5 separate regions of the Homo sapiens genome follow, and all the other regions are linked to region 5. The links are contacts of gene promoters, found by promoter capture Hi-C in blood cells and fetal thymus (Javierre and others, 2016). All regions are on one chromosome and are shown on one strand. Each heading gives the region's core, a stretch centred on a gene start or on the middle of the fragment in contact. The rest is flanking DNA. Distances are from core to core; before and after follow the strand shown. Region 1 overlaps ACAN (aggrecan). Region 2 overlaps ACAN (aggrecan). Region 3 holds the start of MFGE8 (milk fat globule EGF and factor V/VIII domain containing). Region 4 overlaps HAPLN3 (hyaluronan and proteoglycan link protein 3). Region 5 holds the start of MRPL46 (mitochondrial ribosomal protein L46).

Region 1 (2,700 bases), core at 34-2,533, 340 kb before region 5:
CCCATGGGGTATCATGGACTGACCCCCGCGGACTCTGAAGCATGGTTTGAAAAGCTCTGAAGTTATTTGTCCAGCCAACAAACTTTTCTTGACCACCTACTGTGTGCCAAGCATTTCCTAGGTGCTGGAGACACAGAGTGACCAAGACAGATGGGGCTCATGTCCCATGCAGCTTTTGCTGCATGGAGATTTCCAAGGTCCATCAGCATATTAAGAAGGGACCCAAAATTAACTAGGGTTAATTTTGTTCAACCTTGACTTTCTCTGAGGGATGAGATCCTTTTCACCTACAAAGCCTGTTGCTGGCCTTGGAAGGCATGTTCTATAGAAACCATCTTGGAGAACCAAGGGAGAAAAGGTCCCTGTCTCAGGAAGGGAAGTGGAGACAGGAGAAACTGGCCATGACCTCCTCACTCCCCTTGGTGCAGTGAGAAGGAGTGCTCTTTGTGGAGCTCAGGAGGGCAGAGAATCACCAAGGAAACTGACCAGCCAGAATTTCTAGATAATGATAAGTTAAAGAAAAATGCAGGGGATGGGAGTGGGGGTGTTTGTTTTCTTTAAATCAGATGGGCACAAAAAGAAAAGCTTCCCAAGAGGAGGTGACATTTGAACTTGCATGACCAGAATGAACCAGCCATGCAAAGCCCTGTGGGAAGAGCACCTGGGCAGGGGGACCGAGAGGGCAAAAGTCCTGAAGGAAGTGAGAGGCCAGGGGCTGCAGGGAGGTGGAGGAGGGGAGAATGATGTGAGGAGGAGGGGATACCAGCCAGCTTGGGGGCCTGTAGGCCAAGGCTAGGGATTGGGCTTGATTTTAAGTGAGACAGGACCATCTCTAAGGTCTTCTAAATGCCTCTGCAATCCCCAGGGGGCTGAGAGGAAATATGCAAATAACCTTGATCAATTGCTGTGTGCATCCAAGGGCGAGTCATTCTGTGCAGTACTTGCAGTGACTTAGGAGGGGGTGGGAGTCCTGTTTTCCAACCGCTGAAGCATCAGCCTTATCTGGTGTACATAAGTCTTGCTGACCCTGCTGTGTGCAAACCCGGGAGTCCCTGGGTCACTGAGAAGGCAGATCCAGAGAAGAGGGCAGATGGGGAGGGCCTAGATGGGGCTGCAGGAGGCCGAGGCGCTAACCCGAGGGCTAGGCTCCTCCTTCGCTAATGAAGCCATCCCCACTCCTAACCCTCCTCCCGCTCAGGAGTGGGTGTGGAGGCAATCTAAGCAATCAGGTCTCCCACACCAGGAGACCCTCTGTCAAAATATTGACAAGTCACAACAGAGACCCACTTGGGTTGCGTTTAGGAAACAAGTGGGAATCTCAGAACAAGGCTGCTTTAGGGGGATGGGGGAGAACAAAGCACCTGGCTGGGTCACGTGAGTCTGGGGTGGGGGTGATGCCCATGGATGGGGCAGTGAAGTCAGGCGACAGAGACAAGCATGCAAGCAGGGCACCTCTTTACTCAGCTCCAGGGGGCTGCTGTTCACCCCCATTGGTGCTAGTCCAAGTCTTCCAGGGGACTGGCACCCACTGGAGTCACCCAACAGGCCAGGGAACAACAGAGGGTTAGGCCCTCAGCTCACATAGGGGAGGCAGGTGGCCAGGTATGGATAGGGAACAAGTGGAGAGGCAGGAATCCCCTGGGGTCAGAGCCCCACCCCACCCCACAGTGAACTCCACTGAATGTTCTACCTCATTGTTGTCTTCTAATCCACAGAAAAAGGAAGAAAATGAGTACCCAGCATGGCCAGCCTTTAGAGGGAAGGTTACAGATGTGAGATGTGGGGCTTGGAGAGCGCTTGCTGGGTCAGTGAGTTCATTTGAGATTTAGGATTTTAAGCCCTACCTGGTGGGGTCTCCCCTTGCCCCTTGGCCTGGGTGCAGCTGCTGTATTCCTGCTGCAGGCTCAACCTGGGCCCGTGCCTAGATTAGCATCTTTTTAGGCTCAAGTCCCTCCATCTGCTTTAGGAAAAAAAAGCTTCACGGTCAAATTCAGTTTGAAAAACTTGGTGATTTCCAAGGTCCATCAGCATTTTGAGAAGCCCTGCAGGGAAGAGACCCAAAATTAACTAGGGTTAATTTTGTTCATCCTTGACTTTCTCTGAGGGATGAGATCCTTTTCACCTACAAAGCCTGTTGCTGGCCTTGGAAGGCGTGTTCTATACAAACCACCTTGGAGAACCAAGGGAGGAAGGGCCCCTGTCTCAGGCAGGGAAGTGAAGACAGGAGAAGCTGGCCATGACCTTCTCACTCCCCTAAAGGACAAACTGGGGGCAGTGGCTGTAGTCCTGCCCTTGGGGAAGGAAGAGAGCAAGTGGCCCAAGAGGCAGGGCTAGAGAGAAGATCTTAGAACCAAATACACTCTGAGGAACTGTTTTGGGCTTTAAACTAGGAGTTGACAAACTAGACCACAATGGAATCACCTGGGGCAATTTTGAAAACCACAGATTCCCCGCCTCCAAGCCCCCATCTCACTGAAGCAGAATCTCTTGGAGCACATTAGGGCTTCAGCCACCCGTATTTTTGAAAAGCTCCTTAGATGCAGCTAATTTTAGGGACTGAAGGCTAACTCTAATGACACCTCCAGGCCTCCTTTTCAGTGTCTTGTGACGTTGAAAAACATTTACTACATTCCTGCCTGAGTCATCCTAGAATCCAGGCTTCCCCTGAGCCATCTGGATATGCAGGTCAAAGGGAGATGG
Region 2 (2,700 bases), core at 155-2,654, 390 kb before region 5:
ACTCTCTCATCTTACACTCACTCCGGGGCAGGGTGCATGAGCAGAATTTCTAGCACTATCTAGACAGTCATCCTTCTCTCCCTGTGCCAAGTACAGATAGTTGAATTCACGTGTAAAAACTCACGGACTGTAACTCCGCTGTAACGATAACATCACTCATCTTTACAAGTGTGCACTGCATGCAGAGCGTGATGCTAAGTGCTTGCTTTATCTATCTATGTTTATGTTCTGCCTAATCTTCCCTGGTAGAGTATTATCCTACTCTTACGTTACAGATGAGGCTCAGAGAGGGGAAGACTATTGCCTGAGGCTGCACAGCTAACCTTTGGTGGAGTTGTTCTTGGAACCTTAAAGCTATGCTGCCTCCTTCTGTGCTGCAGTAGGCTACAGTCTGAACTACCTAAGCACATTTAAAGGGGGAAAAAATCACAATACCTGCAGCAGTTGATTCTGATTCACGTTTCCATTCCGGAGAAGCTGGGATGGAAGCATCTGTTGGGGAGGTGGCTGTTTCGACTGTGTGAGTCTCTTCTCCTGAGTACAGGAGGCTTGAGGACTCAATTTCTAGATGCGTCTCTGCAGGGCGCTGGGTCTGCTGGGTCCACTCAGACTCTGGGATGCTGGTGCTGATGACAACGCCCAGCTGCGAGGTGTGACCAGACAGGTCTCCGCTGATTTCAGTCCTGTCTCCAGAAGCCGTGGGAGTGGCTGAAGGCAAGCCTGGTGCCTCTGTCCCCACATCACTGGTGGTGGTGGATTCTCCACTCACTTCTGGGGCAGCGGACGCCTCGCCTTCTTGAAATGTCAAAGTGCTGCCGCTCACTCCTAGGCCAGAGGATCTCTCAAGGTTAGCTTCGTGGAATGCAGAGGTGGTTTCACTCAGATCAGGGGACCCAGAATCTTCTCTGCTGGCCTCAGGGGCGGCAGATGCCCCGAACCCAGCTTCAGGATAGGCGGACGTCTCACTGCTAGATTCTGGGACTGATGATACTTCTACTCCAGACCCAGGGAGCACTGGGGTAGCTCCACTAATGTCCCCAGCTGTGGAGACTTTTCCACTGGACTCAAAAAGCTGGGGTGTGTGTGTCACAGGGGGCCTTTGGCCTAGTTCCTGAGAAATAGTTGGTTCAGTAACACCCTCCACGAACTCAGAAGTGATTAAAGTAACTTCTGGAAGTCCTGAGGCCTCTCCACTGGTGCCCATGGCTACAGAGGATTCTCCACTTACATTGGTGGTGCTGGCAAAATCCCCACTAAAATATGGAGTACCTGGTGGCTCTCCGCTGGGCTCTATCAGCCCGGACTGCAGCCCACTTAGGTCCAGAAATCCAGAATGCTCCCCAGACATGTCTGGTGCTCCAGAATGAGCACCACTGAGTTCTAAAATGCCAGAAGGCCCTTCTCCTGCCTCTTGGGCTGTTGGAGCCTGGGTTACAGATTCCACCAAAGTTCTGTCTACAAGAGAGACAGTGGGGAAACTAGATGGAGTTCCACTGCCATAATATGCTCCCGAGGGCAGGCTGCTCCCAATCTCAGCTCTGGAGGATTCTCCACTGACCTCAGCTATGCCACTTGGTAGGCCACTGAATTCCGGAGTCTGGGATGTAAACCCACTGGAATCGACTGTTCCAGAAAACTGTCCACTGACATCCACCATCCCAGATTTGCCTGACAGATCTGCCTCTCCGGAAGGGAGGCCACTGAGTTCCACAGACCCTAAGCCTTCTTCTTCTTTAAATGTAGTAGGGGCCACTTCAACCAAACTGGTGTCCACAAATGTAATCCCAGAAGATTCACCGCTGCCACTCGTGGTACCAGAAACCAGGTCAGGGACTCCTGATGTTGCCCCACTGAACCCTGGTAACCCTGAAGGCTGCCCACTGAGATCAGGGACCCCAGATGTTTCTCCACTCAGATCAGTTATGCCAAAGGGTTGACTAGTGCCATAAAGAACTCCAGATGCTTCTCCACTAATACCTGGTTGTCCAGAGGACAGCCCGCTAAGCTCAGTCACTCCAGATGTTTCCCCACTAGTGTCAGGAAACCCTGATGGCTGTCCACTGACACCAAAGAGTCCAGGTATTTCCCCACTGACATCAGGAGACCCAGATGCTTGGCCACTGAGTTCAGTTCCTGAAGGGAGTCCACTAGCTCTCCCACTAATGTCCAGCTCACTGGAGGGCAGTCCAGATATTTCTCCTGCACCACTGATGCCAATGGTTCCCCTCCCTTCCAGTTCACTTGCAGTGGAGGCTGTGACCACTTCCACCAATGTAGAATCCACTAGGGAAACAGTTGGGAATCCAGATGGAAGTCCACTAAAGTCAGGCAGGCCAGAGGGTGGGCCACTTCCAAGGTCCACCCCAGAATACTCACCACTAAATCCAGAGGGAAGACCACTTGTTTCTGGAGCTTGCCCACTTCCTAGAGTTCCAGAAGGCAGTTTGCCCAAGTCCAAGTCTCCAGAAGCTGACCCCACCAAGTCTTCTTTTCCAGAAGGCAACCCACTGAGGTCCTCAGCTCCAGAAGCTGAAGTCTCTAGACCCTCCCTTCCAGAAGGAAGCCCACTGAGGTCAGTCCCTACTTCAGAAGCAGAGGTCTCTAGACCTTCTCCTCCAGAAGGAAGTCCACTGAGGTCCCCAAATCCAGAGGCAGAAATCTCTAGAACTTCTTCTCCAGAAGGGAGCCTGCTGAGGTCCT
Region 3 (2,700 bases), core at 191-2,690, 450 kb before region 5:
TCACTGCAGCCTCGACCTCTTGGGATCAAGCGATCTTCCCACCTCAGCCTCCTGAGTAGCTGGGACTACAGGCATGCGCCTGGAATATTTTTGTATTTCTTTTTTTGTAGAAACAGGGTTTTGCCATGTTGCCCAGGAAGGTCTCGAACTCTTGAGCTTAAGTGATATGCCTACCTCGGCCTCCCCAAGAGCTGGCATTACAGGCTTGAGTCACCACTCCCAGCCTGAAGCATTATTATTATTATTATTATTATTATTATTATTATTATTATTAGAGACAGAGTCTCACTGTGTCACCCAGGCTGGAGTGCAGTGGCATGATCTCGGCTCACTGGGACCTCTGCCGCCTGGGTTCAAGCGATTCTCCTGCCTCAGCCTCCCGAGTAGCTGGGATTACAGGCACCTGCCACTGCGCCCGGCTAATTTTTGTATTTTTAGTAGAGACGGGGTTTCACCATCTTGGCCAGGCTGGTCTTGAACTCCGACCTCAGGTGTTCCACGTGCCTCGGCCTCCCAAAGTGCTGGGATTACAGGTGTGAGCCACCGCACCCAGCCAAAACACTATTATTAAAATCACTTATTTGTAAACAGGTAATATTTGCACATGATAAGTACAAATCATTTAGTAAAAAGTCAACGGTGACAGGCTTGCTTTGTTTTATTCCCTTTCGGCAAACAGGTGCCCATTTCCTCGCATTTTGTCTATGGTGCCTTTCTTGCAACAAAGGCAGAGATGAATAGCTGCTACAGAGACTCAGGGCCTACATATCAGAGAACATTTTCTATTAGGCCCTTTACAGAAACCTTCGCTGATTTTTTTTTTTTAGTATTTTACCATTTCAGACAATGTTGCTATGCTATCTTTGTATATCTGTCATTTTGCACATGGGAGTTTCTGTAGAATGAATCTCTCTATGTGGAAATGCTAGGTCTTAAGGTGTCAGCATTTGTCGTTTTGATAGGTGTTACCAAATAGCCCTCTAGGGAAGTTGAACTAATTTATACTGTCTTCAGCGAAGCATGCTTGGACCTGTTCCCCACAGCCTCCACTAACCTTGTTAACATCTTGATACTTGCCGATCCGAGAAGGGAAACACGATGCTCATTGTAGTTTTAATTTGCATCTATCTGATTATGAATAAAGAGTTAGCATCTTTTCAAGTCTAAAAATCTTAAAAACAAAACTCCTGAACTTTTCCCGCCCAACAGACTCAAGACTCGTGACCCGGCCGTTGGCACGACGCGGGACGCCGGTGTGGCAGTGGCGGAAGAGGCAGATATCGCGGACCACCCCCGCGCCCCCCAATTCCTTTCAACCAATTCCCTCCCAGCCGCGGAGCCCCGCCCCCAGTCCGCCTCTGGCCAGCTTGGGCGGAGCGCACGGCCAGTGGGAGGTGCTGAGCCGCCTGATTTATTCCGGTCCCAGAGGAGAAGGCGCCAGAACCCCGCGGGGTCTGAGCAGCCCAGCGTGCCCATTCCAGCGCCCGCGTCCCCGCAGCATGCCGCGCCCCCGCCTGCTGGCCGCGCTGTGCGGCGCGCTGCTCTGCGCCCCCAGCCTCCTCGTCGCCCTGGGTGAGTGGATCGCGCCGCCCTCTGCCCCTCGCCCCTCCTCCCCGCGCCGCTCGGAAGTTTGCCCGGCGCCCGCCCTCCACCTCCACTGTTGACAAACTTAGACAAAGCCCCGGGGACCGGGCTGGGCAGAGGGGCGGCTTCTTCCGCTGCGCCCTGGCGGGACAGGGGGATGCGGCCCTGCTGTCTCTGCGCTGGGGCTTTTGGGCTGGGACTCGGGACATCGGGTGACAGCCCTGCCGCCCCCAGGGATGCGGCTTACAGATAATGACAAAGGAATCCGCTGTGTCGGGCCTCTCTTTTCCCTGGTGAAAAATGAGGCCAGGGAACTGCGTTTGACTTTCGAACCCCTTCCACCTGGGAGATTCTAGGACTCTAGTATGGATAAGTCTTGTCTGGATAACTTTGTCCTGGCCATCTCCCTGCCAACTCCAGTTGGCTGGACAGTTCATTGGATTTTTGCGCTCCCAATTGTCCGTGCCTGGTCACATAAGGGAAGGGCCGGGGAGTCGGTGCAATGGACGCAGGCCGTAAGTGGGGCCCGGGAGGGGACCCAGAGGCTTCGAGGAGCTTGGAAGAGGGCTGCCTGCTGATGGGAGTCTCCTGACTCCCTCCCTCCCGCGGCCTTGGCCGGCTGCTGTATCTTCCCCGGTCCTCCTCCGCCTCCCAGGAGGCCTCCGGAGGCCAGCTGGGCCCCTTGCAGGCTGGACTTGCGGATGCCCCGTGCCATTCACCGTGGAGCGCTGGGAGGGAGTCAGGGCCAGGACTCTTTAGGTGGCCCCTCCATCATTTTCTCATAGAAATGGGATTGACTGAAGCAAGGTAGGTAACAGCTGAGCCCCAGCCCTATGTCCTGTGATCTGCCTGACCCTCGGGGCTAGAGCTTCCAGAGTGCTCCAAGCTCCCAGGAACTTGGGAGCTCCTGGCCCTCCCCGGCCACCATGAAAGACAGCTGGATCTTCTTAGCCCCTTTCTACTCTTCCCTGTACCCCCCAACCTGAACTCTGGCCAAATGTTACTGGAAAGTCCCCGAAAGAGCAGGACTCTGAAGTCCCAAAGATGTTTTTATACAGGGTGATGTGGCCTTTTCCAGAAGGAGGAAACACCATACCTATCTTACACACAGGTAAC
Region 4 (2,700 bases), core at 151-2,650, 410 kb before region 5:
ATAAGCTTATATTTTTATGTGAGATCTCCTGATTTTTATGTAAAAACCTCCTTTTTAAAAACAAAACAAAACAAAAAACAAACAAAAAGCCCCCCCAAAACCAAAAACAAAAACCCAGTGCTGTCCAAACCAGCCACACCCTGCAAGCCGGATCTTGTATGTGGGGTCCCTGTTTGATCTTTAATTTGTATTTACCTTCTCTGTCTCTAGGATGGGGCTGTGTGTCCTCACATCTCTCCCACATGTTAGGGAGGCAGTTCGGGGATAGAGGAAGGTGACCTGACTTTAGCCCCAGCCCGTCCCAGCTATGACATGTGGGTAAATGCCTCATCCCCCTTAGAGCCCTGGGCCTCTCAGGTGTAAAATGGGGTATCACAATCTTTCCTCCTTTACCTCCCTCAGAGGCAATGAGGATAAGATGTATGTCCTTAAAATGCGTTCTCTGTCTTTGCCACCAGTGTCCACATGGCTTACATGGTGGCTCAGAGGGGCCGCATTCCTCATTCTTGAAGTTGGGGTGGCAGTGGAGTTGGGGAGAACCTGCAAGAGTCATTGGTCTGGGGTCTGCAGGGGCAGCCTAGAGAAACAGGGAGCCCTCACCCCATTCCCGGGGCTTCAAGGGCTAGGAATTTGGGGTGGAACCAGGCATGAAATAGTCCCCCTGCAAACACACGTAGAGGCTGCAAGCTGACTGTCAGGGCCCATGGGCTTCTCTGCCGCCCAACCTGGCTTTGCCCAGGTGCCTGGCTTCCGGCCCTGGTGAGATCGGAGGTTTGGGGCTCAGGCTGTTCCTGGGTCCTTGGCCACACGGAGGAGATTCCAAAGTGTCCTTCCCAGACCCCTAGGGTCACCTCCACTCCCTAAGGTTTCATTGACTTGGTAGAGACTACATCTCAGAAGTTTAAAAACTTTTTATTAGAGTAAAATTTCAAACACGAACATATCTTTTCAGGGCCTGTGGCCTCTATCAGACCCTGACCACAAGGAGAGAAACCGCCTGCCCCAGACCTCCCTGCCCTTGAGCCTCCTTTATGGAAGGCCCTTCCCCAACCCTCTCCCCACGGCCTCTAGGGCCTCTCCTTCTCCTGAAAATCATCTGCCACACGTGGAAAGTTCCTTGCATTTTCCTAGGAAATTTCCACATTCATAATAACGTAGACGATCGGGTCCCAGCTAACGAGTGGGGAGCTGGGAGTCAAACCTGGCCCCTAGAGCCCAAAGCCCGGGCCTGTCTGGAGAAGATGGCACAGCCTCACTGGGGGTCTGGCGACAGCCTTGCGGATTAGGTTGGGGACATTGTTGGGGACATTAATGGACTAATTAATTACCTTAACTCATGGATGTTTTCTGAGTACTGCTGTGAACCAGCTGAGTCCCAGGAGAGAGGCGGCAACGGACAGGAGGTCAGAGGTTTGCTGAGTTTTTCTGAGGGATGGTGTATGTGTGTGTGTTGCAGGCAGCACATGTCCCAGTGAAGGTGGGAGGAGAGCGGGGTGTCCAGCCAGCTGGGCCCCTGGCCACCCCCTAAGCTCCTCTTTCCTTCCCCTGCAGGTGTGGTCTTTCCTTACCAGTCCCCCAACGGGCGCTACCAGTTCAACTTCCACGAGGGCCAGCAGGTCTGTGCAGAGCAGGCTGCGGTGGTGGCCTCCTTTGAGCAGCTCTTCCGGGCCTGGGAGGAGGGCCTGGACTGGTGCAACGCGGGCTGGCTGCAGGATGCCACGGTGCAGTACCCCATCATGTTGCCCCGGCAGCCCTGCGGTGGCCCGGGCCTGGCACCTGGCGTGCGAAGCTACGGCCCCCGCCACCGCCGCCTGCACCGCTATGATGTATTCTGCTTCGCTACTGCCCTCAAGGGTGAGTGGAATAGCCAAGCGCGGGCCTGTGGGTTTGGTGGCCACCTGGGACCTGTGAGAGGGCAGCTTCTGGGGAGCTCTGGCCCCCTCTGCTGGCTCTGCTGGTACTGCCACCTGGAGGCCAAGAGCACCAGCCACCCTAGAAGCAGCATCTGGTTGAGTTTTGAGTGCTTTGCTGCTGCTGCGTTATGCAGGGCATAAATCATTGGTTTCTTCATTCATCAAATGTTTACTGAGTGCCTACCATATGCTGGGGCCTAGACTAGGCTCTCGGGAATCACAGACGAATAAAACACAGCCTGTCTTCACAAAGCAGCTCATTTCGTAGGAAGATGAACAAGTAAAAACAGAAACTGGTTCAGTGTCATATGCCAAGCCCTTGGAAAAGTGTCTGACACATAGTAGGTGTTCAGTAAATGACCGAATGGGCAAGAGACTCTGACTGGTCCAGCCTAGGTGGGGTGCCCACCCACCTAAATAGGGAAGGGTGGTGGGGGAGTGCAGACATGTCTGGAGGGACCTGGGTTCTATGGCAGGTGGGACAGAGCTCTCTGGGACAGGGTGAAGATTAGAAAGTGTTCTCTGCAGATGCCTGCAGTATGGTAGCTCCCTGGGCTCAGACGGGTCTTTGGGGCTGGCATCTCTGCAGACCCCGCTGTGCTCTCTGGCTGCCCCCTGCGCTGTACGGCACTCACGCCCCCTTTCCCCCAGGGCGGGTGTACTACCTGGAGCACCCTGAGAAGCTGACGCTGACAGAGGCAAGGGAGGCCTGCCAGGAAGATGATGCCACGATCGCCAAGGTGGGACAGCTCTTTGCCGCCTGGAAGTTCCATGGCCTGGACCGCTG
Region 5 (2,700 bases), core at 92-2,591:
CAGGAGTTAGACACTTATGATTTCATACTTCCAACCAATGCTTACCTCCATTATATTATTGAGCAGATTATGGTTAAAATGTTTGCATGTTTGTCTTCCCTCAAAGACTGTGAACTACTTGTGGGGAGGAATGATCTTTTGTATCTGTATTCACGGCACCTAGCATGGTGTCTCACTCATAGTAGATTCTTGGTAAATGTTTGTTAAATGGATGTGAAGTTAAGTGGATGTGTATACAGCATACAGAGGTGGTGGCACTGGTGGGAAGCAAGATGCCAGTTCCTAGGGCTGAGCACAAAACCCACCCTGGACCATCCGTAAGACGTGCAGGAACATCTGTTCCATCGCTAGCGCCCTCTACCTCCCCATTTTGTTTTGGAGGCAGGGAAGGTTATTGGTCTGAAAAGATCTCCATCTCAGAAGAAAAGAACGCTGATACATGTTATGGATATCTCACATTCACTCATTGATTTAACGAATGTTCACTGAACATTTACTCTGTACCACGGCTCATCTGATTCTCACAACCTCTCTCAGCATTATCCGCATTTTTAGATGAGAAGGCTGAGGCTCAGATTTATTTGCATAAGGTCCCACGGATAGCAAGTGACATAGCTGAAAATTCACTGGTTCTGACTCTGGAGGGTGTCGGGCAAGAGTCAGGGGTTGCGGGTCTCCAGAGGGCTGGTCCAAGTGGGGCTCACCTGAACTTGGTGTGGCTGGGAGCCGCGTTCTGTTCAACTTTCTGCTTGGCCGCAGCGTCTTGGAGCTGTCGAGCGCCTGTGCAGATGGTCCCGGCCGGCGTTCTGGCCACGACCCTGCTGGGAAGAAAAGCTCGGTGAGGGCCACGGCCTAACGGTCACTGGGGCCCGGGTGGCTCAAGGGACACGAGTAGGAGCATAGTCCTGGAGGTGGCGGTGGGCTCGAGGGGGCAGTCATTTGTTACCCGGCTGTCTGGGGCCAAGTCCAGGACCGCAGGAACCGCGACCCCGCGTTTCTCACAGCCTGCATGACTTGAATTGACCCCAGTCAGTTTCCGTCTGCAGCGACAGTCACAGCTGCGCCGGCGCCGGTACCATGAGTGCCTGTCGGGGAGGGGACAGAAGGGAAAGTCATCTACTCTTCATTAGGTCCACTGAATATTTTTATTTCCATTTAAATGCTCAATAAGACTTTCACTGTAGTTCACCAGGGGATTCTTTCCCTTTTTTAATGTTCTGAGATGGTGGGTCACCCCCTCCATATGCGAATGGTTCGTTCTAGCAGTTCCGGGACTGAGCTTTCCCCTAGTTTGCCGCTCCCGCGGCTGAGGGATCCCTGGGAGCCGCGGTGCATTGTGGGAGAACGAAAGATGGCGGCGCCCGTAAGGCGGACGCTGTTAGGGGTGGCGGGGGGTTGGCGGCGGTTCGAGAGGCTCTGGGCCGGCAGTCTAAGCTCTCGCAGCCTGGCTCTTGCAGCCGCACCCTCAAGCAACGGATCCCCATGGCGCTTGTTGGGCGCGTTGTGCCTGCAGCGGCCACCTGTAGTCTCCAAGCCGTTGACCCCATTGCAGGAAGAGATGGCGTCTCTACTGCAGCAGGTGGGACTGAGATGCAGGGTTCAGAGTGACGTTTATTCTGCGTGACTTTGAGCGAGTAATTTCACCTCTCTGAACTTAAGTATACGGTACTTATCCGCAGAATGGTACCTACCTTACTGACTTGGTTTGGTACATAGATGTTCAACAAAAAGTGGTTTCTTTTCATTGGCCGTGTTTATTGTCACCTTAGACAACTCTTTGGAGATACTCTACTTCTTGTTCATGCAACACAATAGGGATCCTGTGGTGAACAAGAATCGGTCCGTGTCACTAGGAGCTTACAAGTCTGGAGGGAGAAAGTCTTTGTGATGTGATGAATGTTAAGAAGGAAATACAAGAGGCGGTGGGCACATCTGTCAGATGCCTATGATAAGCCTACTCTGTTTTATCTCATGGGGCTATCTGTGTGAGGGGCAAGTGAGGAAGCATGGGCAAAAACAGTGTAGTGGCTGTGAAGGTGTGAGGTCGCTACAGAAAGTGTTTGAAGGGTGATATGTTTCCTCAGAATCCGAGATGTTTTTGTCTTGGTCTGTTGAGAACTATAAACTTCTCTTCTGTGCTTTTTGCTTGATTTATTCATTTACTCGCTCGCTTGACAAATATTTGTTACTCAACCTACAGATGTTCATTGTGCCCATACTATGCATCAGAGAGTATGTTAAGTGATAGAGATGCTGTAATGAATAAGGCAGAAGTAGCTCTGGTTCTCAGAGTACTTCAGTCTAGTTGAGTGAGGGGATCAGTCAGTAACCAAATAATCATACAACTAAATGCAGACCCTGATAAGTGTTGTTAAGGAAAACACAAGGCACTATAAGAGTGTTTAACAAATACATCACATTTTGATTTTATGGTGAGTGTCAAGGAATGCCTCAGACTTTCTGAATACAGGTTTTTCTCTTTATGAGAAATGTCTCTCTGAGACAGTCATATTTAAATTGAAATCAGAAAGATGAGTAGGACTCTCCCAGAAGAAAGAATGTGAGGAAAAACATTCTAGGAAGAAGGAACAACCTCTTGAAAGTCCCTGAACAGGAAAGTCCTTGGTGAGTGAGATTCTGATCAAAGACTGACATGACTGGATTGTGGTGAGTCAGCAGGCATTGCCCAACCCAGCTCTC

Evidence for each region. Contacts are between HindIII fragments. The CHiCAGO score rates a contact against its expected background, and 5 or more counts as called.
Region 1: a contact is called between a fragment that was not itself captured here and the fragment with the promoter of MRPL46 in region 5, in 1 of 17 cell types (endothelial precursors). The highest score is 5.4, in endothelial precursors.
Region 2: a fragment that was not itself captured here is called in contact with the fragment with the promoter of MRPL46 in region 5 in 6 of 17 cell types (megakaryocytes, naive CD4 T cells, total CD4 T cells and 3 more); the score reaches 6.6 in megakaryocytes.
Region 3: a contact is called between the fragment with the promoter of MFGE8 here and the fragment with the promoter of MRPL46 in region 5, in 1 of 17 cell types (total CD4 T cells). The highest score is 5.7, in total CD4 T cells.
Region 4: a contact is called between a fragment that was not itself captured here and the fragment with the promoter of MRPL46 in region 5, in 8 of 17 cell types (naive CD4 T cells, total CD4 T cells, non-activated CD4 T cells and 5 more). The highest score is 9.2, in naive CD4 T cells.

What each region holds. Positions count from the first base shown.
Region 1 is chr15:88,810,560-88,813,259 of GRCh38, reverse strand. All of the region lies in intron 1 of ACAN (aggrecan), which reads right to left. Among named protein-coding and RNA genes, the nearest start is that of ACAN, 8.5 kb to the right of the region's middle. The HindIII fragment of the contact is 1,391 bases long and covers 588-1,978 here.
Region 2 is chr15:88,857,153-88,859,852 of GRCh38, reverse strand. It overlaps ACAN (aggrecan), which reads right to left. Exons shown (of 19, transcript NM_001369268.1): 12 at 436-2,700. Among named protein-coding and RNA genes, the nearest start is that of HAPLN3, 37 kb to the left of the region's middle. The HindIII fragment of the contact is 8,083 bases long and covers 1-2,700 here.
Region 3 is chr15:88,912,119-88,914,818 of GRCh38, reverse strand. It overlaps MFGE8 (milk fat globule EGF and factor V/VIII domain containing), which reads left to right and starts at 1,440. Exons shown (of 8, transcript NM_005928.4): 1 at 1,440-1,572. The coding sequence starts at 1,500. RefSeq lists an enhancer at 1,699-2,230. The HindIII fragment of the contact is 11,396 bases long and covers 1-2,700 here.
Region 4 is chr15:88,878,121-88,880,820 of GRCh38, reverse strand. HAPLN3 (hyaluronan and proteoglycan link protein 3) reads left to right here. Exons shown (of 5, transcript NM_178232.4): 4 at 1,552-1,854; 5 at 2,565-2,700. Among named protein-coding and RNA genes, the nearest start is that of HAPLN3, 16 kb to the left of the region's middle. RefSeq lists an enhancer at 1,696-2,271. The HindIII fragment of the contact is 2,785 bases long and covers 8-2,700 here.
Region 5 is chr15:88,466,029-88,468,728 of GRCh38, reverse strand. MRPL46 (mitochondrial ribosomal protein L46) reads left to right here and starts at 1,341. Exons shown (of 4, transcript NM_022163.4): 1 at 1,341-1,579. The coding sequence starts at 1,352. MRPS11 (mitochondrial ribosomal protein S11) reads right to left here and starts at 1,021. Exons shown (of 6, transcript NM_022839.5): 1 at 947-1,021; 2 at 705-821. The coding sequence starts at 1,011. RefSeq lists enhancers at 1,171-1,340, 1,807-2,700. The HindIII fragment of the contact is 6,788 bases long and covers 1-2,700 here.